4 separate regions of the Homo sapiens genome follow, and regions 1, 2 and 3 are each linked to region 4. The links are contacts of gene promoters, found by promoter capture Hi-C in blood cells and fetal thymus (Javierre and others, 2016). All regions are on one chromosome and are shown on one strand. The core of a region is centred on a gene start or on the middle of the fragment in contact, and the rest is flanking DNA. Distances in the headings are between cores, read along the strand shown. Region 1 overlaps PHF12 (PHD finger protein 12). Region 2 holds the start of LOC101927018 (a long non-coding RNA gene). Region 3 has its middle 8.8 kb from the start of MIR4732. Region 4 holds the start of TLCD1 (TLC domain containing 1).

The links. The method cuts DNA at HindIII sites, captures the fragments that hold promoters and counts their contacts. A CHiCAGO score of 5 or more calls a contact.
Region 1: a contact is called between a fragment that was not itself captured here and the fragment with the promoter of TLCD1 in region 4, in 17 of 17 cell types (activated CD4 T cells, endothelial precursors, naive CD4 T cells and 14 more). The highest score is 31.7, in activated CD4 T cells.
Region 2: a contact is called between a fragment that was not itself captured here and the fragment with the promoter of TLCD1 in region 4, in 10 of 17 cell types (activated CD4 T cells, total CD8 T cells, naive CD4 T cells and 7 more). The highest score is 13.4, in activated CD4 T cells.
Region 3: a contact is called between a fragment that was not itself captured here and the fragment with the promoter of TLCD1 in region 4, in 5 of 17 cell types (endothelial precursors, megakaryocytes, erythroblasts and 2 more). The highest score is 7.2, in endothelial precursors.

What each region holds. Positions count from the first base shown.
Region 1 is chr17:28,907,276-28,913,830 of GRCh38, forward strand. PHF12 (PHD finger protein 12) reads right to left here. Exons shown (of 15, transcript NM_001033561.2): 9 at 5,207-6,002; 10 at 3,837-3,962; 11 at 2,951-3,094; 12 at 1,508-1,606; 13 at 315-397. Among named protein-coding and RNA genes, the nearest start is that of DHRS13, 7.5 kb to the left of the region's middle. RefSeq lists a silencer at 1,456-1,750. The HindIII fragment of the contact is 5,109 bases long and covers 1-5,000 here.
Region 2 is chr17:28,924,096-28,930,791 of GRCh38, forward strand. PHF12 (PHD finger protein 12) reads right to left here. Exons shown (of 15, transcript NM_001033561.2): 3 at 2,896-2,968; 4 at 1-207. It overlaps LOC101927018 (a long non-coding RNA gene), which reads left to right and starts at 2,180. Exons shown (of 2, transcript NR_110803.1): 1 at 2,180-2,633. RefSeq lists enhancers at 1,932-1,981, 2,002-2,181. The HindIII fragment of the contact is 1,952 bases long and covers 3,604-5,555 here.
Region 3 is chr17:28,867,710-28,873,424 of GRCh38, forward strand. No RefSeq gene overlaps it. Among named protein-coding and RNA genes, the nearest start is that of MIR4732, 8.8 kb to the left of the region's middle. RefSeq lists an enhancer at 3,858-3,927. The HindIII fragment of the contact is 7,165 bases long and covers 1-5,715 here.
Region 4 is chr17:28,724,666-28,730,680 of GRCh38, forward strand. It overlaps TLCD1 (TLC domain containing 1), which reads right to left and starts at 1,568. Exons shown (of 4, transcript NM_138463.4): 1 at 1,239-1,568; 2 at 816-898; 3 at 639-721; 4 at 1-228. The coding sequence starts at 1,432. NEK8 (NIMA related kinase 8) reads left to right here and starts at 4,123. Exons shown (of 15, transcript NM_178170.3): 1 at 4,123-4,195. The coding sequence starts at 4,149. RefSeq lists enhancers at 380-1,103, 467-766, 887-936, 1,104-1,827, 1,828-2,551 and 3 more and a silencer at 1,347-1,876. The HindIII fragment of the contact is 5,537 bases long and covers 1-3,844 here.

The DNA.
Region 1 (6,555 bases), core at 1,196-3,695, 180 kb after region 4:
TCACAGGGACACACCCACAAGGCTTGGCTTCCTTCTATGCTGGTCCCCTCCCTTGCTTTAGGGTAGGCTCCCTCTGTTGTGCCTGTGACTAACCTCAGGAAAAATGGTAGCCCTGCTCCTGGGAAGCAGGTAGCTTCCCAGGTAGGATGCTATTTCACATCAAGACTCTCCTCCTCCAGGAATGACAGGGAGGGAAGAAAAAGAGAGGACCCCCAATCCCTCTTCCCTCCCCTCAGGGCACTGAACAAAAACCTACTGCCTGGGAGAGGCCTCAGGTTGGGAAAGCTCCCTCCCACCGCATCTCCGGCCCTCACCTCATCGTAGAATATGCAGGCATGTTTCCCGGACACGTAGTTACAGTGACCATAGTTTGTAAGGCACACATCCATGTCAGCTCCTGCAAGGTGGCAGGAGTAGAGGAAAAGGAAGGCAGAGAACAGATTGTAAGGTGCATGTGTCGGGGAGGTAAGACAGGGAGAGAGTTAGCTTCTGGGTTGGCACTAGCAGAGACTTCAAGGGTGAGTAGCTCAGGGCCCTCCCCTTTTATTTTTGAACAAAAACTGTTGTCTTTTCCAAGCTCCTGATAAAGAACAGCTGTCCCTGCCAGCTGATCTGCTTTAGAACATGTGGCTGCTACCCAGAAGGGAAGAGTGAGCTACTGAAGAGGATGGGATATTTCTATGAAAATACAACATCGGGGTGCAGAGCCTAGAAAATCTTATCACCTTAAAGAAAGGGAAGTTTCTAGGGTAAGGGCTAATCTGTCTGTCCTTCTGTACCAGATACAGAGCTATCGGTCTCTAGGACTTTTAGGGAAAACAAAACAAAACAAAAAACAGATACAGGGCTAACTGAAGATTGGGTATGTGTGAGTCTATCACTCTTTCAAAGACCACCAGGGACAAAGCATCTGCCTTCTCCTTAGGTTCTTCCCTGCAGTGTTTAAAGTGCCTCCCTGGGCAGTAGTCAGAGCTGACTTTCATCTCTGCTGTTGCAACACTGGGCAAAGACAAAGCAAAAGGGCCTGAACAAGGGAAGACAAGGAACTGATTGTCTCTTTTATTTTTGAGACAGGGTCTCACTCTGTTGCCTGGGCTGGAGTGCAGAGGCACAAAAAGGATCACTGCCTGGACCTCCCAGCCTCAGGTGATCTTCCCACCTCAGCCTCCCAAGTAGCTGGGACTATAGGCATGTTAGCCCAGCTAATTTTTTATATTTGTTTTTGGTAGAGATAGGGTTTCACCATGTTGCCCAGGCTGGTCTCGAAGTCCTGGGCTCAAGTGTTCCTCCTGCCTTGTCCTCCCAAAGTGTTGGGATTATAGGCGTGAGCCACCGTGACTGGCTGATTGTCTCTATTCTTAGTTTCTCTTGTCTAGCTATCCACTGATTTAAAGCAGTCAACTCTGGAAAGGGCTTCCCTCACCCCTTTCTAACTTCTGTGGGTAAGGGTGTCAGTCTTTAGGGCTGAACAGATTCAGTGTCTCTCCCAGCTTCCTGGCTGGCTCACCTGTCCCGATGTAGAGGGTTCGATAGCACATGTTCACAGCTCCTCCCAACCCTAAGAGGGGGTAGAACACAGCTCGGGCCTGTACCTCCTTTCTTTGCACTACAAGACAAACATAGGAATAGGATCATTCAGAAACTCAGATCCTGTGATCCAAACATAAACCAACAAAATCTGGACCTTTGGCTCATGGCCTGGAGAAAATCCCGCTGGATGACTCATCTTTCCAAACTCACATCCAACACTGAGCTGCGGCAGGGTAAGGCTTTCTCTCCCCACCCACAGCATTTCCAACACAGGGTACAGAGGACCATCTTTGAAGATGGTCAGAGAAGTCAGAGATGACAGTACTGTGTAAGTTCCTGGGCTCCTGGCTGGCTAATCCGGGATATTCCAGCTGGTACTATAGGGAGAATATGGAAAAACAGACGGCATGGACCAGTGTTTCTCAAACTTTAATGTGCATAAGAATCGCCTACAGATCTTGTTGAAATGCAGATTCTGATTCAATAGGTCTGAGGAGGGGCCTTAGCTCTGCATTTCTTTTGCTGTTTTCTTTAAAAATAGGCAAAAAACCAATGCATTGAGCTCTGCATTTCTAACAAGCTCTCAGGGGCTGCTGATGCTGCTGGTCTGCGAACCACACTTTGAAGCAGCAAGGCTCTTAATGGCCAATGCTCAGACATATCTGAAACAGAGTTAACCACTTGGGGAAAATTTCCAGAAGGTTGGCCTAGTGTTATTCTATTTCTCAACTTGAACTTGAAAAGTTCCCTCTTGGGAAGCCATTCTTTTTAAAATTTTATTTATTTATTTACTTATTTATTTGGAGACAGGGTCTCACTCTGTCACCCAGGCTGGAGTGCAGTGGCACAATCATAGCTCACTGCAGCCTTGACCTCCCAGACTCAAGCGATCCTCCCATCTTAGCCTTCCAAGCAGCTGGGATTACAGGTGTATGCCACCATGCCTGGGTAAGTTTAAAATTATTTGTAGAGATAGGGTCTCACTGTGTTGCCCAGGCTGGTCTCCAACTCCTGGGCTCAAGTGATCCTCCCGCCTCAGCCTCCCAAAGTGCTGGGATTACAGGTGTGAGCCACTGCACTCAGTCGGGAAGCCCTTCTAATTCAAATATTTGAAAGCAAGTAAGCAGAAAGTACACTACATATACCCAAAGGTACTGGTAGCTGCTTTGCTGTGTCTCGAAGTGGACTTATATATGAAAGAAAGTTACAGCAGACTTCCCCAAGTCTGATCAGAAAGCTGTGGTTGCCATCTTGTTCCTGCTCTCTTCAGAAAAAAACCATGGTGCTTTATTAAGCCCATGAAAAGCACACAAGGAGGTTTGAGATACTGGAAGCTCAGATTCTCCATGGAGGCAAGGTGACCATTCGCACACGTAGAGGGGAGATCTGATGATGTGGTGACAGGTGTGTACATGCGCACCTTCTATGTGGTGCCCTCCAGAAGCCAGCTGATGTGTCCCGACACTGCCCGGTGAAGGTTGGACCCGGGAGGGGAAAAGCTGATGTATTCTCTGCAAGGCCAGAAACTTGATCAGCTTCTCGTCCAGCATATTTATCTCGATTTCTATTAGCCAAAGAGAAAGATTAAAAAGCAGCTGAGATGGGAAGTGGAATGTGGAAGCAAATCAGGGTCACAGAGCAAATAGTTTGGCATTTCTAAAATCCAGCCAAGTGATTTTTACTCAAACAGCATTGAGTGCAGAGCGTACAAGGATCTGCAGCTGGGCATCTCACTTGCCATTTGCAGTGAGATGGGCCCCAATGCAGCCTGTGCAGCTGCCTCCTGTAGTTGGGTGGACTGATTTTAATTAAAGTGCCCCTAGAAAGGCAGAGTGGAATAAACCACTTGCCTGTCTGTGGGGGAGGGCCTGGATGTCTGATATTGAGACTTGAACTTTCTACCCACCTTGTGTTCACAGAGATCAAGATCTGTCCCTGTTCTCCTGGACTTTGGGGGTTTCCCACAGATGAGGTCCCTCCTTTGGGAGTGAGGATCTTAGTTTTATTCTGCAAATCCAGGTGATCTGCCTAAAGTGATTTTGTTCTCGTCTCACTGGTTCAGCTTGGCTCTGTCCTCCCTTCATCTTTGATTATGTGTATATGCACATGTAGAAGGCAGAGCTACAGAAGGAGCTTTCTTTTTCACCCCGCCCCCCCATCCAAAAGGATACTCCTCATTCCCATCTCCCCCTAGGCCTCTGGGATCAGGTGTCCCTTCCCTCCCTTTCTGAAATGAGCTGAATGCTGTATAGGAATAGCACCTTCAACATAGCAAACGGTGGAACAGCAGCAGCTCATTCACTCACCTCCATTGACATCCATAAATGCTCGAAGTGAGTTGGTGAGGTCCACCATGGCAGTAGAGTTGGCTGGGAAAGAGGGTACGGTTAAAGCGCTTCCTATGGATAACGTGCCGGGGCTGACCTTGCCATCTGGGGACGGAGCAGGAAGACTGTTACTTACGTCGCCTGAGGGAAACCCACCGTCCAATCCCCCACTGCTGAGACAGGTCTGGATTTCGGACCCAAGGTGATGTTCCCTTCTTGATTCTCAACCCATAGGCTCTGGAACTCCTAGAGCTAAAAACGTGTGGTGAGGAAGGGCAGATGGAACGACAAAGCACCCAGGCACGCAGGAGTCTCCAGAGCACTGAGAACCACTGAAATCCACTGCTCTGGGGAAAGTGGTGGGGCAGCTTCATTCTTTGGGCCATGACCACCTCCCTGCTGCCTCTACTTTAAAATAAGTAGTGCCTGCCCTTATAATTCTTGCCTACTGAAATATGACTCACGGCGTGGAGAATCTACCCACGCTGGTTTTAAGCGATAAACAGAGATAGGAAAACAGCCTGGGAGCGGGGCCATCCTGGGACCAGGGGCTCCCATGCAGAGAAATCACAATCATCTGGTTACCGAGACTCCCAGCTGACTAGGAGGCCGGCTTCAGTTCAGACGGGAGAGACCACAGAGGGTTCCGGCAGCATCTGAAACCTGGTTCAGATGCTGGGGTCAGCAACTTCAAGGTCCTGAGTGCTCTCTGGGGACAGCTGAGAGAGCAGGTCCACAGTAGGCCAAGTACAGACCTGAAGGACCGCCCTTTGGCATGTGGCCTGAGGGCACGCTTCTGGGCTAGAACAATCCCTGTGGGCATCCCACTCTACAGCTCCTCTGAAAGACAGTGCTGCTGTCTAGCCCTGCTTCCTGACATGGAAGTTCATCAGATTAACTCTTTCTGAGAATATGCATCAGGCATGAATCCATTCTTTTGTGTGGATCTGACAATACTGAGGCCATCACGCAGAACCTCAGGCTGATCATAGTAATTCCAGAGAGCACCCTGCCTTCTTTTAAGGTGACAGAACAAAACAGGCAGAGGCCTAGGCCTGGAAGGTATGGGATGGAGTCAGGAGACCTGGGCTGTGGTTCCAATCCTGCCACTGACTCAGTAGGTCATTTTAAGGAAATCACTGAAGCTTTCAGAGCCTAAGCAGTCCCATTTATAAACGGGACAAGTTAACATGTGCTTCCTCTTCTATTACGGAAATGAGAGTAAGACAAACAATACAAAGGCCAAAGTCCTCTGAAGTATTCACAGGGATATAAGTGCTTTTAGAATCTTATTTGCCAGAAAGAGCATAAAATTATTCCAAATCAACCCAAGGCTGAGCAGCACTCACCTGACGATGGCGCTGGTGAGCTGAATCGTTGGTTGGCTGTTGTGGCCAAGATACCATCTCCTGCTGCTTGCGGGGGAGTGAGCACCCGGGTGGCGTTTGGGGGTGAGCCCAGTGGCCTTGAATCTGTCAACGGAGGTCCTATCTGTGATTGGACAGTCTTTCTTTGCAAAGTGCTGGTGTTCTCGATGCTGGCACAAGAGCTGGGAATGGAAGGGGGCAGGCTTGGGACAGGAACCAAACTCCTCTGGGGGCAAGAGCTGGGGCCAGTGGCATTCTCTGTCTTCACAATGATGCCGACGGTGTGGTTCTGAAGGCCCCCAGCCGCTGGTGGCGTGAGGGGCCGGGGCCAGCCTTGCCGGTGTGAGAGGCCTGGTAGTGGGGTGTTAGCGCCTGGAAGTCGCCGGGGGTCCGTGGAATCAGTAGGGCTGCTGTAGAGGTGTGGGCCATTAGCTTTCACCTCTGTGTTCACTGGCCCATTGGCAGTCCCACAAGGGGTTTTCTTGGATTTTTCCGCACAAGAACTGCAGCCGATGTCCTCTAGGGCTGGGGACTGGTGGGGTGGAGAGCAGCTCAGGGAATTCTGGGTGCTAATCCCTGAGGGGCAGGACAAGGGGTAGTGGGAAGGTGTAGGTGTCTTGTCAGCTGTTTGCAGGGAGGTGGTGACTGAGCTGTCAGTCACAATAACAGGCTTAATATCAGCCTTCTCTGTCTGTTCAGAGTCCCAATGCGAAGGCATCTGCTTAGCAGATAAATGTTTCAATATGCTGCACTGGAGCGCAACAACACTACAGAGCCACTGCAATGGAAGGAGAGGAGAGGGGGGTGAGAAGCCTGAGAGGCGCCGGTCCTTCCTGCCACAGTGGCCAGGGCTGCAGCAGAGCTGACAAGCAGTTTCCGAGGTCCCATCATGAATGCTCACAAAGGGTGTGCTTGACTCCTGATAGAATTCCATTTCCATTCCCAAGCAAGACTTATAGGTACCCTCAGCAGGCCAACACTCCCTCTGGCCAACAGAGCTTGGGATCTGCATTTTGACTCTGCCTTTAAGGCTTACTTGTGACCAATATTCAGCAATTACCCCGAGCACCTGTGGTATGTCCAGCACTATCACCTAACCTCTCTATGGGTCTACTCATCTCTTTCTACAGTATAGATTTGCCCATCTCACAGTGCACTGGGGTAACGATGGAGAGAAGCAGACCAGTTGCCTTTGTAGATCTCTTACTTGCCTTTGGGATTTGAGCCAGAAGTTCCCCCTGGAATACTCAACTCTTGAGGGGTTAGGATGAGGGTGGGTGGGGACTGGAATGAGAATGACACTGAGGCTACTTCTGATAACAGCTGTGGTG
Region 2 (6,696 bases), core at 3,330-5,829, 200 kb after region 4:
GGGAGTCTCTGTGCTGGCGCTGGATGTGGGTGTGCCAGGCCTGCTGGCTCTCCTTTCCAGGATCCGGGCATGGGCAATGGCCTTTAGTTCAGTTTTGCTGGCCGATCTGTCCAACAAGTCAGTGTCACTGCTGGGGGATGTAGTCCGTTTGCCAGATTTGTCCACCAGTCCATTGACATGACCCAGCTCCTTTTTCTGCTCTCGTTTCTGTGCAAATGAACAGGTGGGCCCATCATGAAAAGTACCATGAAACAAAGAGATGGGTGCTACAAAGTCCTGGTAGACCACTAATCAAAACTGTAAAAGGCCTTCACATATCACAGACTCATCTACCTGGTCACTTGGAACACTGGTCTGTTAAAGTTGACACAACTCTAACTGAACTAAAGCTGACAAAACTGTTGCATCAGAGAATCACCAAAAAGCATGGTAAGTTAGGAATAACTATACAAAATATATATCATTAACATTAACTCATTGTATGACATACAACATCTATAAAGTATAGGGTAAAGGGCTAAAAAGGTAACACAGTGAGAATAAATTTAGTGAGACCAATAGTAAAAATCAATGGGGCAGGCACGGTGGCTCACGTCTGTAATCCCAGCACTTTGGGAGGCCGAGGCAGGCAGATCACCTGAGGTCAGGAGTTCAAGACCAGCCTGGCCAACATGGTGAAACCCCATCTCTACTAAAAACACAAAAATTAGCTGGGTGTGGTGGCATGTGCCTGTAATCCCAGCTACTCAGGAGGCTGAGGCAGGAGAATCGCTTGAACCTGGGAGGCAAAGATTGCAGTGAACTGAGATTGCGCCATTGCACTCCAGCTTGGGCGACAGAGCAAGATTCCATCTCAAAAAAAAAAAAAAAAAAAATCAGTGAGATCACTATAGAGCCTTCTGACCTCCTGAATGGTTTTAAAAATAAAAACTTTGCTCAAAATAAGTGACACTTCTTAGAAAGTGGGGAAATGGAAAAAGATTAAGTGTACTCAGTAGGACTGGATATCTGATAGTACATTTTCCTCCAGGACTCCAAATAGAGTGGTCAAATGAAGGTTTAACACTGATCTCCAGGTAGGAGACCTGTGATCTTGTCCTATTTCTGCCACGGATCCCCTCTGACCTTGTGGTGACTCAGGCTGGTGGGCAGGAATTTCTTCATCTGTAAAATGAGACAGAAAAATCTTTCTCCTCCTCCTCTCAGGGATATGGTGGAGGGAGATAAAAAGGGTCATATATACGAAAGGGATAATTTGGAGTTGGAGTAGGACCTAGTCTTCCACTACGAATCATGATAGGGCCTGAATGTCAGGAGCTGATGAAGGCCAGAGGATGTATTATTTCAATCCACTTCAGTGTAAATACAAGAGGCCAAAGGGGAGTAGTGCTGGTGATGGTGGAAAAGGCAGACTTGGCACTGGTAGGCAGAGGTCCATGTGAAAGGTAAGAGAGGCATCTCAGGAGAAGTGCCATGTTAGAAAAGGGCATACTGTAATCCCCAACAAGTAGCTCTCCTTCTAGAAAACTGATGAAGAGGTAACAGAGGTTTGGAATGAGAGAATTTGGTTCAAACATTGGTTCTGTCAATACCTTTGAGTCCTTGGGAAAGTTAATCTACATTTTTGAGCCTCCGTTTCTTCCTTTCTAAAATGGAAACCTACGGCCAGCATTCGGTATCCATCTATGGCTGGATGGATAGATAATGGGATAACGTAATTAAAACACCTGGCACACGATGGGCACTAACATAATATTTCCTTTTCTCCACCGTCTTTACCCCTTTTCCTTCAGCTCCCCTAAACCTTTTCAGGTCCAGCTTTTTTGAGTGGCAAGTTTGAGAGGGCTCCTGGCTGGCAGGTGCCTCTAACAGGCCCTGCTCTAACCTAATTAGGGATGCACAGGAAAGGATCTTGGAAGGTGGAGAGGCTGGAAGACAGCCTGGTTTATGGAGAAATTTAACTACAGCTGTGGTTAGGTGGTTGACCTGGCTTTGGCTTGCTTTTAAATATGAACCCTTATGCACGTATTTGAAAAATAATGTCTGCTTGTTTACTTTCTTTCTTAAAGGCTGAAACTGTTACACACATAAACCACAATCTTAATCATCTCATCCTGTTTCTGCAACCAAGGAAGTCATCATTCATTGTGACATCATGTTCGGGGACCAGGCAAATAGAGGTGAGGTCACAACATAGGAAAGTTGCTTGGTGTATAATTAGTGTGGGGAGCACAGGGGGGTGGATTACAATGCACAGACAAATTCTAATCCATAGCCTGTAATTTGAGGGTTGGGTCAATCATAATTTGGGTGCAAGCACACCTACTTCCTTTTTTAATAAGGGAGAATTTAGCTCTTGTTACCCACAAGAGTTCTCAAAGTAGAAAATAATAAACCATGTTCTTGAAGCCAGTACTGAATTATCAAAGCTGAAGGAAGGGAAGCTAAAGAAAGATTAGGCAACTTGGGGTACAAATGCGTTCAAAATCCTCTCCGTCAGTATGCCAAGTCTCTGGATACCAGTGACTTATTTGCCCTGGGGTGAGAGAAAACTCCATTTTCCATCAAGCTGGAGAAGCAGCCTTTGTTTTTCAGCCATGGATAAGGCCACTTATTAGGAGGACAACAAGAAGGTAAGACTACTCCTGTCACTAGTGACTAAACATGGCTCAGTAAGTTAACACACCTCTTCTGCCCATTTCAGCAGCCCATGTTTGGATTTTTAGGCCCTACTGGATTCCAAACAGTCACCATGGGAAGAGTGGGGTGATTCCAGGGCTGGAAGAGACAAGAAGAAGGGACAAGAATGCCTTCAGGGCTAGGCCGTCTTAGCTCTAGCATATCAGTGCTCTGGATCAGGCTTTCTGGACAGTCTTCAGAAAGCAGCATTATTACCTTTCGGCGAACAGTGCACCGGTGACACATCCACTCTCCAGGAGGCAACATTTCTTCACTCAGTGGAGGGTTACTGTGGGGAACAGACAAGGGCAAGACTAAATAACTAGCCCTTTGAGGCAGTAGGAAAAGCCTAGCTAGGTTTGCATGTTCCTAAACTCCTATTGTGGCCAGTCCTGCAGGACTGCTAGGGTTGTCTCCTCCAAAATGCCTAAGTCAGCATCACTCATAATAACCTAAGGAGTGACCATCCCTTCCCACACCTTAGAGAGAGAAGCCAAATCCAGAGCTATTAACACTGGGTTTGTAGGGAAAGGTATAATAAAATAACTGAGAGGTCCTCCACACTGTTTTCTTAAAGCCTGTTAGTGTAGAGCCAAGCTTTTCTAACTGCTGTTCAAAGCCCTGTCACATGGTCCCACCGTTCCATCTTCCCAGACCCCTTCAGGTGCTCTTCCCACTATTCAAATGGAAGACTTCCTATTTCTTCCTCTAGAATACTCTTCCTTTAGAAAGCTATGCCTGTCAAAACTCTATTCATCCTTTCATACCTGCCTCAATCAGCTGTGATGGATTAAAGACAGCTGCAAATTATCTGCTCTGCCTCCCATCCACAGGTAGTCCCTTTCCCTCCTCTTGAATTGTGCTTGTCTTATGACTTGCTTTGACCACAGAATGCAGCAGAGGTGACAATGTTGCAACTTCCAAAGCTTGGCCTTAAGAGATCTGCAGATTCTATTTTTTAAGAAATATGCTTGGAAAGTTCCATCTCAGAGCCCTGCTGTCATGCTATGAGAGAGGACATGGAGGAGACAAGGTATTCCAATCAACAGTTTTGGGCTGGGCGTGGTGGCTCACACCTGGAATCCCAGCACTTTGGGAGGCCGAGGCTGGTGGATCACTCGAGATCAGGAGTTCAAGACCAGCCTGGCCAACATGGCGAAACCCCATCTCTACTAAAAATATAAAAATTAGCCAAATATGGTGGCACATGCCTGTAATCCCAGCTATTTGGGAGGCTGAGGCAGAAGAATTGCTTGAATTTGGGAGGTGGAGGTTGCAGTGAACCAAGATCACACCACTGCACTCTAGCCTGGGCAACAGAGTGAAACTCCATCTTGAGAAAACAAAAAACCAGCTTCAGCTGAACTCCAAGCCAACACGCAGCAGCAACTACTGCTATGTGAGTGAGTCATCTTGGACTTACCAGTTCAGTGAAGCCTCCAAATGACTGCAGTCCCAGCCAACATCATGTGAAACAGAAAAACCACCCAGCAGAGCCCAGGCAACCCTCAGAACTGTGAGAGATAATAATGAGTTTCTGTACCAGGCCAATGAGTTTTGGCGTAGTTTGTTATGCAACAATAGATAACCAAACAGCTTTTCCATGAGTTCATATTACTCCTGTATCTTGGACCTCTTGCTGCATGGGTTAGTTCTCTTTTGGCACTTCTCATGCTTTGCCCATTTCAGCAGTTCTCTTACTTATTTTATTAGAGGGACTAGGACAATGATTGGATCTCTTCCCTCCTTGTATTTTTATAATACAGAGGTTGTGCACACAGCAGATCACCTGAGATTGGAAGTTCAAGACCAGCCTGGCTAACACGGTGAAACCCCATCTCTATTACAAATACAAAAATTAGCTGGGCGTGGTGGTGGGCACCTGTAATCCCAGCTACTTGGGAGGCTGAGGCAGGAGAATCCTTTGAACTCGGGAGGCGGAAGTTGCAGTGAGCCAAGATTATGTCATTGCACTCCAGCCTGCGTGACAAAACTCCATCTCAAAACAAACAAACAAACAAACAAACCAAACCAAAAAACAGGCCAGGCATGGTGGCTTACACTTGTAATCCCAGCACTTTGGGAGGCCGAGGCAGGCAGAACACGACGTCAGGAGTTTGAGAACAGCCTGGCCAACATGGTGAAACCCTGTCTCTACTAATAATACAAAAATTAGCCGGGTGTAGTGGCACGCGCCTGTAGTCCCAGCTACTCAGGAGGCCGAGGCAGGAGAATCGCTTGAACCTGGGAAGTGGAGGTTGCAGTGAGCCGAGACAGTGCCACTGCACTCCAGCCTGGGCGACAGAGTGAGACTCTGTCTCAAAAACAAAACAACAACAACAACAACAAAAACCACATTTATGCTTAAGAAATTCCTACCATTGAGTTCTTGGCTAAGTCACCTACTTGGAATGGTATGCAGGAAATTTTTCTTCAAATAATGGGGGAAATGGTAAAAAAAAAAAAAAATTGAGTATTTTTTTTTGAGATGGAGTTTTGCTCTTGTTGCCCAGGCTGGAGTGCAATGGTGCGATCTTGGCTCACTGCAACCTCCGCCTCCCATGTTCAAGCAATTCTCCCGCCTCAGCCTCCTGAGTAGCTAGGATTACAAGCATGCGCCACCATGCCTGGCAAATTTTTTAGTATTTTTAGTAGAGATGGGGTTTCTCCATGTTGGTCAGACTGGTCTTGAACTCCTGACCTCAGGTGATCCACCAACCTCGGCCTCCCAAAGTGCTGGGTGTACAGGCGTGAGCCACTGTGCCCAGCCAAACTTGAGTATCTCAGAGCTTAAAGCTATGCTGTTTTACCATTTCTACATAAAATAGCACTTGACTTGGCAAATTTTCTTAGCTCCCTGTTTCCCCAGAGCCCCAAGCTTACATGTCAGATGCCCACCAAGGCTTCACAGCTCATTACTTCCCTTCCTCCCTGTTTCCTTAGTGAAATCTCAGGAGGATGCTTACCAGGAATCAGGAAACTGGAAAAACAATGGCCTGCTGGGACAGATCTCCAAGCCCTAGAGGACCACAGGTGAATGTCACCTGTAAGTCTCCGCTCATTCTAGCCAATGTAATTCTACAAAAGGCCACATCTAAACTACTGAAATGCATGCAAGTAATTTTCAAAGGCCTACAGACTCTGCTATGCTTCAGTAGCTGTCCTATCAAAATTAACCCTGAAGGGTGTCACTTCTGATTCTGTTTCTCATCATTTCTGTTCATCTGCCCACTGGCTTTGTACCAAGATATCCTACATCAAACATTTAAAACATTTAAAGTAGAGAAGATAAGACCCCTGTGGCCAGAACCCTCTTCTTTCTCCAGCTCAATCAGTTGGCCGGCTCCCTACACAGACCATACTGTTTCTCATCTGTGTCTCTGCTCACTCCAGGGCTGCTACCCACAACTACACCACTCTTCCCTAACTACTTCACCTGGTAAGCTCTTTATCTTTTGAGACTCAAGTCACGTATTCTTTCCAGGAAGCTTTCTCTGAAAGTCTCTGGTTCCACAGAGCACTTCTGCACCACACTGTATTCAAACCATTACATGTCTGAATCCCCTTCTCCATGCCTCATTTGCCTTTGTACCTCCACACCCTGTACAATGCCTGGCATGTAGTAAGTACTCAATAAAGCTTTAAAGAACTGGGGAACACTAAGGAATGGGCTTCTAGGAAGTGAGTGTAATCCTTCAAAGCTATGAGGGGAGGTAATGCAATGGGGCAGGCAACTGTTTTGTGGGTTAAATCACACATGAAATTACTTATGTTTTCTAAGTTACTACACAATGAGACAGAAGAGGAGTCCAAGTCCATACTGGCAAGCCTGTACTTACTGAACCATCCCACCTCTACTCATTTTAATCTTCTTTAAACAATTTGATTTTCAATATCGTTTATCTTAACACAAGGTAAAATGCTTAAACTTGTATTAAGAGGCTCTCAGAAGTAGCATCTTGCTAGTTTCTAAAGGATCACTTTTAGAGTTACCAAGTTTAAGAACACACTTCTGGC
Region 3 (5,715 bases), core at 2,254-4,753, 140 kb after region 4:
TGTGGCAAATTCCCTTGTTTGTCCCCAACCATTCCATGAATGGGCACCTTGTCTGAACCATCTCCCTGGCCCAGCACCCGGGATTTATCCTGGGAGGTGTTCAGAGAACGCCTTACATGGAACAGATGCTCAAGCATATGTTCCCTTATACTCTTTATGCCGTTCAGCCCCATGAGGAAGTGTGCATGTTGAGCACTGTACCCAGATGCCCCTGGAGCCCTTCCAGGGAGTGGGGTCCTAGGAATGGCTTTCCTGGGGGCTTTGCCGATGTCCATCCATCTCCAAAAGACACCTGCATGCCATTTTCACGATAGAGAAACTAAGGTTCAGGGAGGAAGTGCTTGGCCCGAGTCTTATAGTGAGCAGAACTACAGCCCTGTTCTCCAGACCCCACACCCTGGCTCTATGCACAAACCCGCTAGGAATAGGGTAGATTTTGTGTCTTTGTGAGGCCTTTTTGAGTTTCAATGGAATCAAACCTAAGTTCTGCCAGTTACCAGTAATGTGATTCTGAGCCTCCTTATCTATTATAGGGATGAGAATAATACCTGCCTCACAAGATCCTTCAGAAGATTCAGTAAAATCTAGCTGGGCACGGTGGCTCACACTTGTAATCTTAGTACTTTGGGAGGCCAAGGTGGGTGGATCACTTGAAGTTAGGAGTTGGAGACCAGCCTGTTCAACGTGGCAAAACCCTGCCTCTACTAAAAATACAAAAAAAGGTCGCTGGGTGTGCTGGCAGGCACCTGTAATCCCAGCTACTCAAGAGGCTGAGGCAGGAGAATCACTTGAACCTGGGAGGCGGAGGCTGCATTGAGCTGAGATTGCGTCGCTGTACTCCAGCCAGGGCGACAGAGTGAAACTCCATCTCAAAACAACAGCAAACAAACAAACAAGATTCAGTGAAATCGTGTAAGAAAGCCCCTGAATGATGCAAGGATTCCTTCTGTGTTTCTACTTATGCAGGCAGACTCCACTCATCTATCGGACCTCTTTTTTTTTTTTTTTTCCAGAGACTGGAGTGCAGTGGTACAATCACAGCACGTTGCAACCTTGAATTCCTGGACTCAAGGAATCCTCCTGCCTCAGTCCCCCAAGTAGCTGGGACTGCAGGCCCATACCACCACACCCAGGAAAAAATTTGTTTTCTCGCTCTGTCGCCCAGGCTGAAATGCAGTGGCACAGTCTTGGCTTAATGCAGCCTCTGCCTCTGGGTTCAAGAGATTCTCCTGCCTCAGCTCCCGAGTAGCTGGGATTACAGGCATGCACCACTCCTGGCTAATTATTTTTTGTATTTTTAGTAGAAACGGGGTTTCACCATGTTGGCCAGGCTGGTCTCAAATTTCTGACCTCCAGTGATCTGCCTACCTTGGCCTCCCAAAGTACTGGGATTACAGGCATGAGCCTGTACGTGAGCACCCGGCTCCACGTATTTTTTTTTTTTTTTTTTTGAGAGGGTGTCTTGCTCTGTTCCACAGGCTGGAGTGCAGTGGTGCAATCTCGGCTCACTGCAACCTCCATCTTCCGGGTTCAAGCAATTCTCTGTCTCAGCCTCCTGAGCAGCTGGGATTACAGGTGTCCGCCACCACGCCTGGCTAATTTTTGTATTTTTAGTAGAGATGGGGTTTCACCATCTTGTCCAGGCTGGTCTTGAACTCCAGACCTCGTGATACACCCGCCTTGGCCTCCCAAAGTGCTGGGATTACAGGCATGAGCCACCACGCCTGGCCTGGCTCCAGGTACAGGTAATATATATATATATTTTAAGACCGAGTCTCGCTCTGTAGCCAGGCTGGAGTGCAGTGGCGTGATTTGGGCTCACTGCAACCTCTGTGTCCTGGGTTCAAGCTATTCTCCTGCCTCAGCCTCCCAAGTAGCTGTAACTATAGGCGTGTGCCACCACACCCAGCTAATTTTTGTATTTGTATTTATTATTTTTTTTTGAGACGGAGTTTCGCTCTTGTCACCCAGGCTGGAGTGCAGTGGCACGATCTTGGCTCACCACAACCTCCTCCTCCCATGTCCAAGTGATTCTCCTGCCTCAGCCTCCAGAGTAGCTGGGATTATCCGCACGTGCCACCACGCCCAGCTAATTTTGTATTTTTAGTACAGTCGGGGTTTCTCCATGTTGGTCAGGCTGGTCTTGAGCTCTCGACTTCAGGTGATCCACCCACCTCGGCCTCCCAAAGTGCTGGGATTACAGGCGTGAGCCACTGTTCCCGGCCCTAATTTTTGTGTTTTTAGTAGAGATGGGGTTTTACCATGTTGGGCAGGATGATCTCTATCTCTTGACCTCATGATCTGCCCACTTCGGCCTCCCAAAGTGCTGGGATTACGGGCGTCAGCCACCGCGCCCGGCTCCAGGTAATTTTAAAACAAAATTTTTGTAGAAGCCTGGTGTGGTGGTTCATGCCTATAATCCCAGCTCTTTGGGAGGCTGAGGCGAGTGGATTGCTTGAGGCCAGGAGTTGGAGACCAGCCTAGGCAACATGACAAAATCCATCTCTACATAAAATACAAAAATTAGCCTGGTGTGGTGGCATGTACCTGTAGTTCCAGCTACTCAGAAGGCTAAGGTGGGAGGATCGCTTGAGCCTGGGAGGTTGAAGCTGCAGTGAGCCGTGATCGCACCACTGCACTTCAGCCTGGGTGACAGAGTGAGACCCTGTCTTAAAAAAATTTTTTTAGGGCCAGGCGCAGTGGCTCAGGCCTGTAATCCCAGTACTTTGGGAGGCCAAGGTGGGTGGATCACGAGGTCAGCAGTTCGAGACTATCCTGACCAATGCGGTGAAACCCCGTCTCTACTAAAAATACAAAAAAATTAGCTGGGCATGGTGGTGGGCACCTGTAATCCCAGCTACTTGGGAGGCTGAGGCAGGAGAATCTCTTCAAACCAGAAGGTGGAGGTTGCAGTGAGCCAAGGCTGGACCACTGCACTCTAGCCTGGGCAACGAGAGCAAAACTCCATCTCAGAAAAAAAAATTTTTTTTTTTAAATAGAGATAGAGGCCAGGCACAGTGGCATACGCCTATAATCCTAGCACTTTGGGAGGCCGAAGCAGGCAAATCACTTGAGGTCAGGAGTTCAAGACCAGCTTGGCCAACGTGGTGAAACCGTGTCTCTACCAAAAATAGAAAAATTAGCTGGGCATGGTGGCAGGCGCCTGTAATCTCAGCTACTCGGGAGGCTGAGACAGGAGAATTGCTGGAACCTGGGAGGCGGAGGTTGCAGTGAGCCGAGATCACGCCACTGCACTCCAACCCAGGCTGACAACAGTGACCAAAAAAAAAAAATAGAGATGGGGGTTCTCACTGTGCAACCCAGCCTGATCTCAAACTCCTGGCCTCAAGCAAACCTCCCACCTCAGCCCTTAAAAGTTCTGGGATTACAGGCATGAGCCACCATGCCTAGTCATCTAATCCCTTGTTTAGCCTCTTCCACACACTGCTCTTGGGCAGCTGCAATCCAGCAACAATCCCCTCTCCTTTCTCTGACCTCCTGCAGTTTATGAGCCAAGCCTTCTCATGAAGCTCACTTGTCCTGAAATCACAGGCCCATGTTTGGCTTGAACCAGAGCTTTCGCCTTCACAGTTCAGGGGTTGTACATTAGGGTTCTTGCTTCCTGTCTAGGAGTACTGAGAGCTAGCAGGAAATAAGCACAGCTTCTGACTGACTTGTCAGAGTCCGGGCTCCACCACACTACCGCTGAGTGATTCTGGCCCCTGCACCTGATCTTAGAGTCTTGGCTTCCTCAACAGTAAAATGGGGTTCAGGCCAGGTTCAGTGGCTCATGCCTGTAATCCCAGCAGTTTGAAGGCCGTGGTGGGCGGATCCCTTGAGGTCAGGAGTTTGAGACCAGCCTGGACGACATGGCGAAACCCTGTCTCTACTAAAAATACAAAAATTAGCCACGCGTGGTGGTAGGCGCCTGTAATCCCAGCTACTCGAGAGGCTGAGGGAGGAGAATCTCTTGAACCTAGGAGGCAGAAGTTGCAGTGAGCCGAGATAGTGCCATTACACTCCAGGCTGGGTGACAGAGTGAGACTCTGTTTCAAAAAAAAAAAAAAAAAAGGCCGAGCGCGGTGGTTCACACCTATAATCCCAGCACTTTGGGAGCTTGAGGCGGGCAGATCACGAGGTCAGGAGTTCGAGACCAGCCTGACCAACATGGTGAAACTCCATCTCTACTAAAAATACAAAAATTAGCTGGGCTTGTTGGCACAGGCCTGTAATCCCAGCTACTGAGGAGGCTGAGGCAGGAGAATTGCTTGAAACCGGGGAGGCGGAGGTTGCAGTGAGCCGAGATCGTGCCACTGCACTCCAGCCTGGGCGACAGAGCAAGATTCTGTCTCAAAAAAAAGGGGTTCAAATGCTTTCTTTTCCATGCTGGTGAAGATGAAATGAGACAGTGAAGGTGGATAGTTCTAACCTAGAGCCTGGCACATGAACAACAGGAGCTCAACAGATGCCAAGCTCCTTCCTTCCTGGCTTTGCAGTGGGCTTTCCCTGTTTACTCTCTCCAACGGGGCATACACCTGTGGGCGCTCGTGCTCACTCATACCCGTGCACGTACACGTGATAGTGTCCCCCTTGCACCCCTGTTGAGACACATACTGAGTCAGAAATGGAAATTTTCCTCTCAACACCTCCCTAACTCTATTCATCAGCTTCCAGTTCCTATTCTCTGGGTCAGTGGGGACTCTCAAGTCCAGACTTGGGCCATGACCTTTCCAGTCTCCTGGTACAGTTCTTTCTTTTTTTTTTCTTTCTTTTTTTTTTTTTTTTGAGACGGAGTCTGGCTTTGTCCCCCAGGCTGGAGTGTAGTGGTGTGATCTCGGCTCACTGCAAGCTCCACTTCCCAGGTTCACACCATTCTCCTGCCTCAGCCTCCCGAGTAGCTGGAACTACAGGTGCCCGACACCACGCCCGGCTAATTTTTGTATTTTTAGTAGAGATGGGGTTTCACCGTGTTAGCCAGGATGGTCTTGATCTCCTGACCTCGTGATCCGCCTGCCTCGGCCTCCCAAAGTGCTGGGATTACAGGCGTGAGCCACTGCGCCCAGCCAGGTACAGTTCTAAAGGTGGCTGTTGAGTGGAGCCTGAGTGTCCCTACTGCCTCAAATCCTTCCCGCCATCAGCCAGGCCTTTACATTCCTCCCTCCCTGCCAGGACAACCTGTTTGCTTCACAGCTGCTGTGGAAAAGATAGGCAGCCTGGATTATCAAGACAGACAAGGCTCCTTGCTGACAGTTCCCACCCACCCAGAGGCAAGCGTTCCTGAGCCCTTAACCCCCTCTGTGCTGGGCCTTCAGGCCTAGGGACTGGGCACAGCAGGGAAGATGGGCAGGCCTGGTACCCTCTATATCGAATTCCTAAGGCTGGTGGGGTCATGAGCACAACAGGGTAGGAAACAGCATCACCTGCACACTCCAGGTGCCCATTCTATATACTAAGCCCTTTCCTTCCTGGGTTCATGGAAGTTCATGGTAAACAGGGCCTTAGCAGGCCTCTGAAGGCTCAGGCAGAATGCTCTATACTCTCCACTCTCTCTTCCTGAGGCTGGTTCCAGGCTCTGGGGACAGAGGCCTGGCTTTCTCCATTCCAGGGGTCCACTGGCATTAGTACAGGTGCTGAGGCATCCCCTCCTCACTCCCTACCCCCACATCATTGCCCCTTCCTCCTCTCCAGCACCCTTCAGATCTCTTTCAGCAAGGC
Region 4 (6,015 bases), core at 318-2,817:
ACGCAAGAAGAAATGGGTGAGGTAGGCCTGAGGGGCCAGGCGGAAGAGAAAGTACATGACCAGGTTCACATACTTGTTAACCCGGTAGAGGAGATGATCCTGGGCATTACTGATTTTCATCATCATGCGAATGGTGAGGAAGATGTTGCTGACTTCCACCAGTAGTGTTAAGACACCCCCACCGACAAAGCTGCTCCAAAAGATGCCGGAGAAGAAGGCACCCATGGCCTAGAGGGAAGAAAGAATAGGAGTTAGGGAACCCAGATGCAGACGCTTTCCTGGAAGTTTGGGGGGTGTGGCTATCAGATTGAGGGCTGGAAAATCCCAAATTTCCCCCTGGAATAATAGTTTATAGTGGGTAAGATGCTTTGTTTTGTTAGTTCAACATTACTAGATTTTGATTGCTGCTCACAGCTGGCTGTGGGTGATGTTCAGTCTAAAGAGGCAGTGAAACCATGGGTTGCTGGCCTCAGTGAACAAGTACAGACTGCCAACCTCCAGCATCCTAGCATAAGAAGTAGCACACAGGTCGGGGGTGGGTGGTAAGAAAACACGGCCTTCTCCCAGATTCAGAAAGACGGAGCTGAGACTAGATTACTGACACCAGGCCTATACCACATAGTCTGCTTCTCTCTTACCATGACGTGATGGACAAGGTATTCCCAAGAGGCTCGCGTCTGTCCGCTAGCCACGATGTCCACCGTATCGTGGATGAAATACCCTAGTGGAGGGATGGGGCAAGAGATCATGAACTGAACAAGCAGCTTCCTTCTCCCTGTCCCCAATTTGCCTCCCGCTTCCTGGGCAAGACCTACCCGCAGAGAAGCAAACGAGCAAATAGCCAGAAAGTGACCACGCCGTCTCAATCTCCACTAACATGTCAGGAGTCTGCCATACACTGGAAAGGAGGGAAGAGGAGGCTCTGCATTTCGGCACCCTCAAGGACCATCAACTTCTCGGTTACCCTTCGCAGCCCCGGGGGATCCTGGGCTCGCGCTAGTGGCTGACTGGGAAGCTAAGAGTGGCTGGGCAAAACCCAAGAGCCTCCAGTTTCCCAGGGGCGATCCCCCTCCCCTGGGGCCACTGCGGCTTTTGGTTGGATAGGATACCAAACGGGATCAGGTGAGACTGCGTGGCCTCAGCCCGCCAGTGAGCGATGGGGGTAGTAACACAAGAGCCGGCCCCGGCTCCCCGCTCAGGATCCCCTGGCCACCTCATTTCCACAGTCGCTCACTCACCACAGCAGTGCCCAGATCCCCGACACAATGGAGTGAGCGAAGGAGACGAGCAGGTTGTGCCAGCGCCAGGTGCGCAGGGGGTCGGCGCGCACGTGCACGGGTAGGGGCAGGCGACAGAGCGCGCGCCGGAGCGCCCGGAAGGTCAGCGTGGCGCCCAGGAGCAGCGGCAGGGCGGGGTGCAGCAGTCGGGGCATGCTGGCCCTCCCTGCCGTCCGCCCTCGAGGCCGCCTCCTAGGTCTGTTCTGGGAACCGGGATCCCTCTCGGGCCAGTCCAGGCCGGCCGCCTCTCCCGCCGGCCGCCAGCCCCACACAGTTGGCGAAGCCCTCTAGGCCCCTTGGCTCCTCCTCGCCCTCCCTGCGAGGCCTCTGCCCCCGCCCCCAGCCGCCCGCGCCCCCGCCCCGCCCGCCTGCCCCCGCCCCGTCCGCCTGCCCCCGCCCCTCAGGCGCTGCTGCCGCGCGAGCCGGGTGTCCCCGTGGCCTCTCGGCCACCGGCCGGCTCCCGCGGACTTCGGGTAACTAGGAGCTGTGCTGGGGGCGTCGTCGCCGAGACACCCCTCGCTGGCGCCTCCCGACTGCCGACGGAGTCCCCGCTGCCCTCGCTCGCCTGGCCTCATTAACCCGCGTCCCCACTTTTCCCCGGGCCACCGGCTACCCCGCCCTGGGCGGGTACCGCGAGAGCTCTCTCCGCCCTCTACTTTCTGCGCAGAGCTGGACGGGACCCGACACGCCCACGCCCCCTAAGTCCTGGTCCTGGGGTGGGCTCCGGAGCCCCGCGTCCGACAGTGGTCTCCGTGCAGACCCAGTGCCCCTACCGCACCACTCGCAGTCTTCTGGCCGGAGTCCCGTGTTTACCTGTCCCTCCCGCGCCCGCGAGGTGGGCACTTGGGAACTGCTGAGTAACCCATCGCCACCTCTTCCCGCCGGCTCTTAAACTCCTGGGGCCGGGCGGCTGTCACAGTCCTCCCTCAGACAGTCCCGGCCCTCGGCCCGGCTCCCCGGAGGCTGGGCAAGCAAGACCTCCGATTTGCCGGGACAGCTGGAGTGACCCGCGCTCTCCAAGCCGGTAGCTTGCAGCAGTTGCGGCTCCTAGCCACTAGGTGTCAGCCTGCCCTCACTGTGGCGCGGGCTCCCCCTCCCGCCTCCGAGCGAGGCAGCTGCTTTCGGGGAGAGTTTAGGTATAAACTCTGGGCGAAAGGAGGAGCAGCTGAGAGCCAGCGAGGGAAGTTAAGCGGAGATGAGAGCGGGGAGGGAGAAGAGGGTAGTAATAGAGGAGGGGCGGGAAGAAGCGGGGGAGGGGAAAGGTGCTGCGGGCGGGAGGAAGAAGCCGAGAAAACCTGAGGCGCAAGGACCCAGGGACCAAGCCGTTTGAGTGTTTTCCTCCCCTATGGCTCCAAGGTTACACATTAACCCCTGTGGGACTCTTAAGTCAACCAAAGCCCAGTCGGTTTCTAGGTGAGAACACGGGTGTCCTGGGTGAGCGGCTTTCCCGCCCCTCCCCTTGGCTCACAGAGCTGCTCTGTCCGCCGGCCGACACCGGCCTGAGCCAGCGCCCTTCCAGCAGTCATTCCACGTGGGTGGGTTTGGATACCCTTGCGAGAGCCAGGACAGGGGCAGAAGATAAAACGCCCCTTTCCTCACACCCCTTGCCCACTCTGATACAGGGACGCTAACCTTCAGCTAGTGACCATCCTCCTCCTGAATACTGATGTTTTCTTTCTTTCTTTTTTTTTTTTTGAGATGGAGGCTCACTCTATCGCCCAGGCTGGAGTGCAATGGCACGATCTCGGCTCACTGCAACCTCCGCCTCCCAGATTCAAGCGATTCTCCTGCCTCAGCCTCCCGAGTAGCTGGGATTACAAGCGCGCGCCACCGTGCCCAACTAATTTTTGTATTTTTAGTAGAGACGAGGTTTTACCATGTTGGCCAGGTTGGTCTCAAACTCCTGACCTCAGGTGATCCGCCCGCCTCGGCCTCCCCAAAGTGCTGGAATTACAGGCGTGAGCCACCGCGCCTGGCCGAATACTGAGTTTTTCTAGAGCTCCCGCAGAGCAGGAGCCCGGGAGAACCTGGAATTAACCTCACTTCCGGTAAAGAGCCTAGCTGGTCACACTAACCAGCCCCCTGCCTCTAGGCTTTTGCCTTGAGCTCATTTCGGCGAAACCGCGGTCTTTCCTTCTCCCCTTGATGCTTTCAGGTACTGACCCACTACCGCCCCCATCTTCCCCCATGGGAAGATGAGCACTGAGGGCAGATTACCCTCCTGCAGCGCGTGTGTGAAAGGGGAGTTGAGAGTGCTGACGAGCGCGGCGCTCACTAGTCGGGACGGCCCGAGACCGTGTCATGTCCTCTTCAGGTGAATCAACTTGCACGACTTGGGATTTCCCCCGTCCCTCCCCAGGCAAACACGAAACCAACCCTGCTGCCTTCTCCCAGGAGCGCTGGTCTCGGTCGTTTTGGGTGTGTTTATCGTTTGCGTGCCAAGGAGAACCCGCTTTCTCCTGAAATAGCGTCACTCGTGGGCAAGAAGGGGGTCAATCTTCTCTTCCCACCCCTTCCCGGCCTGTGGGGTTTAACTCTCGGGAACGCGACATCCTTTTAGTCTAGCAAGCTTTACAAGGGCTGGGTATATGTGTGGGAGGGGCGGGTACCGTGCCCGCCATTGCGGGCGCGCCCTATTTTCTTGCCCTATTCTTGGACACTGCGTGGGGCAGGGTCGTGAGGGGAAAAGTGACGGCGTGTCGCAGCGGGAGGTGTGTGGTGCAGGCCCACAAATACGGACGCGTGGCGGAACCCACACCTAGGGCGCTGGCTCCGCCCCGCAAGCCGCTCGCCGTGAAGGGGCGGGGCCCAGAGTGGGTGGGTCCGCGCACGCGCCGCGTGGGGGACGGAAGTGAAACTCTAAGAAATGAGATGGAGAAGTACGAGCGGATCCGAGTGGTGGGGAGAGGTGCCTTCGGGTGAGCCAGGGCTCTGGGGGAGGAAACTGCTAGGGGATAGGGAAAATAAGCCCCAATTCCGCCCGCGAAGTCGCCGCCCGCCTAATCCCGCCCCAAGGCGTGAGCGCCACTCTGGGAAGCCCCGCCCAAGCTTCCGGTCCCAGTCCCCCGGGGAGACTCCGCCTCTACGGAGGCCACGCCCCTGACAGGCCCATTGCTCCGCCCACTGAGTTATGTTAGCTTCTTTATTCATTCGTTCAACAAATACTGAGTGCCAGCTATGTATGTCAGGCTTTGGCCGCTGGGTATATAGTTAGAACCGGAACGGGCGTGGTCTTTTCCCTCTTGGAACTTACTGACTGTGGGAAAGTTATACAATAAACAAAACATTATGAAGTAAGAAGTTATAGCAGTTATGAAGTGTTATTAGCAGGTTGTGAGGATAGAGTACATTACCAGTGAGAATACTTATATGAGATGGTCAAGGAAGAATTCTCTGAGAAGGGAGATTGCTTGCTTGCTTGATTGATTTTTAAGACAGAGTCTCCCTCTGTCACCCCGGCTGGAGTTCAGTGGCACGATCTTGGCACACTGCAACCACCACCTCCTGGGTTCAAGCAATCGTTGTGCCTCAGCCTCCCGAGTAGCTAGGATTACAGGCGTGCGCCACCATGCCCGGCTAAATTTTTTGGATTTTTTTTTTTTTTTTTTTTTTTTGAGGCAGTCTCACTCTGTCGCAGTGGCGCGATCTCGAGTGCAGTGGCACTATCTCAGCTCACTGCAACCTCTGCCTCCCTGGTTCAAGCGCTTCTCCTGCCTCAGCCTCCCGAGTAGCTGGGACTACAGGCACGCGCCACCATGCCCAGCTAATATTTTTTGTGTTTTTAGTACAGATGGGGTTTCGCCATGTTGGCCAGGCTGGTCTCAAATTCCTGACCTCAGGTGATCCGCCCGCGCCGGCCTCCCTAAGTGCTGGAATTACAGGCGTGAGCCACCGCGACAGGCCAGAAGTGAGATTTAAGGCCAAGACTTGAGGAATGAGGACCAGTAGTCTGCAGGTGAAGGGAGAACTTTTCAGGCAAAGGAAATAGCGTATGTGAAATGTCTCACATGGGAAAACAGAGCATTCAAGAAACCGAGAAAGACTAGTAATAGTTGGAATGTAGTGGGCAAGGTAGAGAATGGTATAAAATGTAATTGTCGAGGGCGGGGACTAGATTATGGCCTGATAACCTGAGATAAAAGGTTCATTTGCCACAAACGGTTTTGTTTTGTTTTTGTTTTTGTTTTTGAGACGGAGTCTTGCACTGTCGCTCAGGCTGGAGTGTAGTGGCAATCTCAGTTCACTGCAATCTCCGCCTCCCGGGTTCACGCAATTCTCCTGCCTCAGCATCCTGAGTAGCTGGGACTACAGGCACACGCCACAACAACCGGCTAATTTTTTTTTTTTTTTTTTTTTTTTTTTTGTGAGACAGAGTCTCCTCTGTTGCCCAGGCTGGAGTGCAATGGCACCATCTTGGCTTACTGCAAGCCCCGCCTCCCGGGTTCAAGCAATTCTCCTGCCTCAGCCTTACAGGCGTGTGCCACCATGCCTGGCTAATTTTTTGTATTTTTAGTAGAGACAGGGTTTCACCATGTTGGCCAGCCTGGTCTCGAACTCCTGACCTCAGGCGATCCACCTGCTTCTGCCTCCCAAAGTGTTGGGATTACAGGCGTGAGCCACCACTCCCAGCCACCAGGAAGGGTTTTAAAGAGGAAGAGTGATCCTGAGACTTGGCAGAGTTTTCTGAAAAGGGGCAGGGTGCAGTGGCTCACGCCTATAATCCTAGCACTTTGGGAGG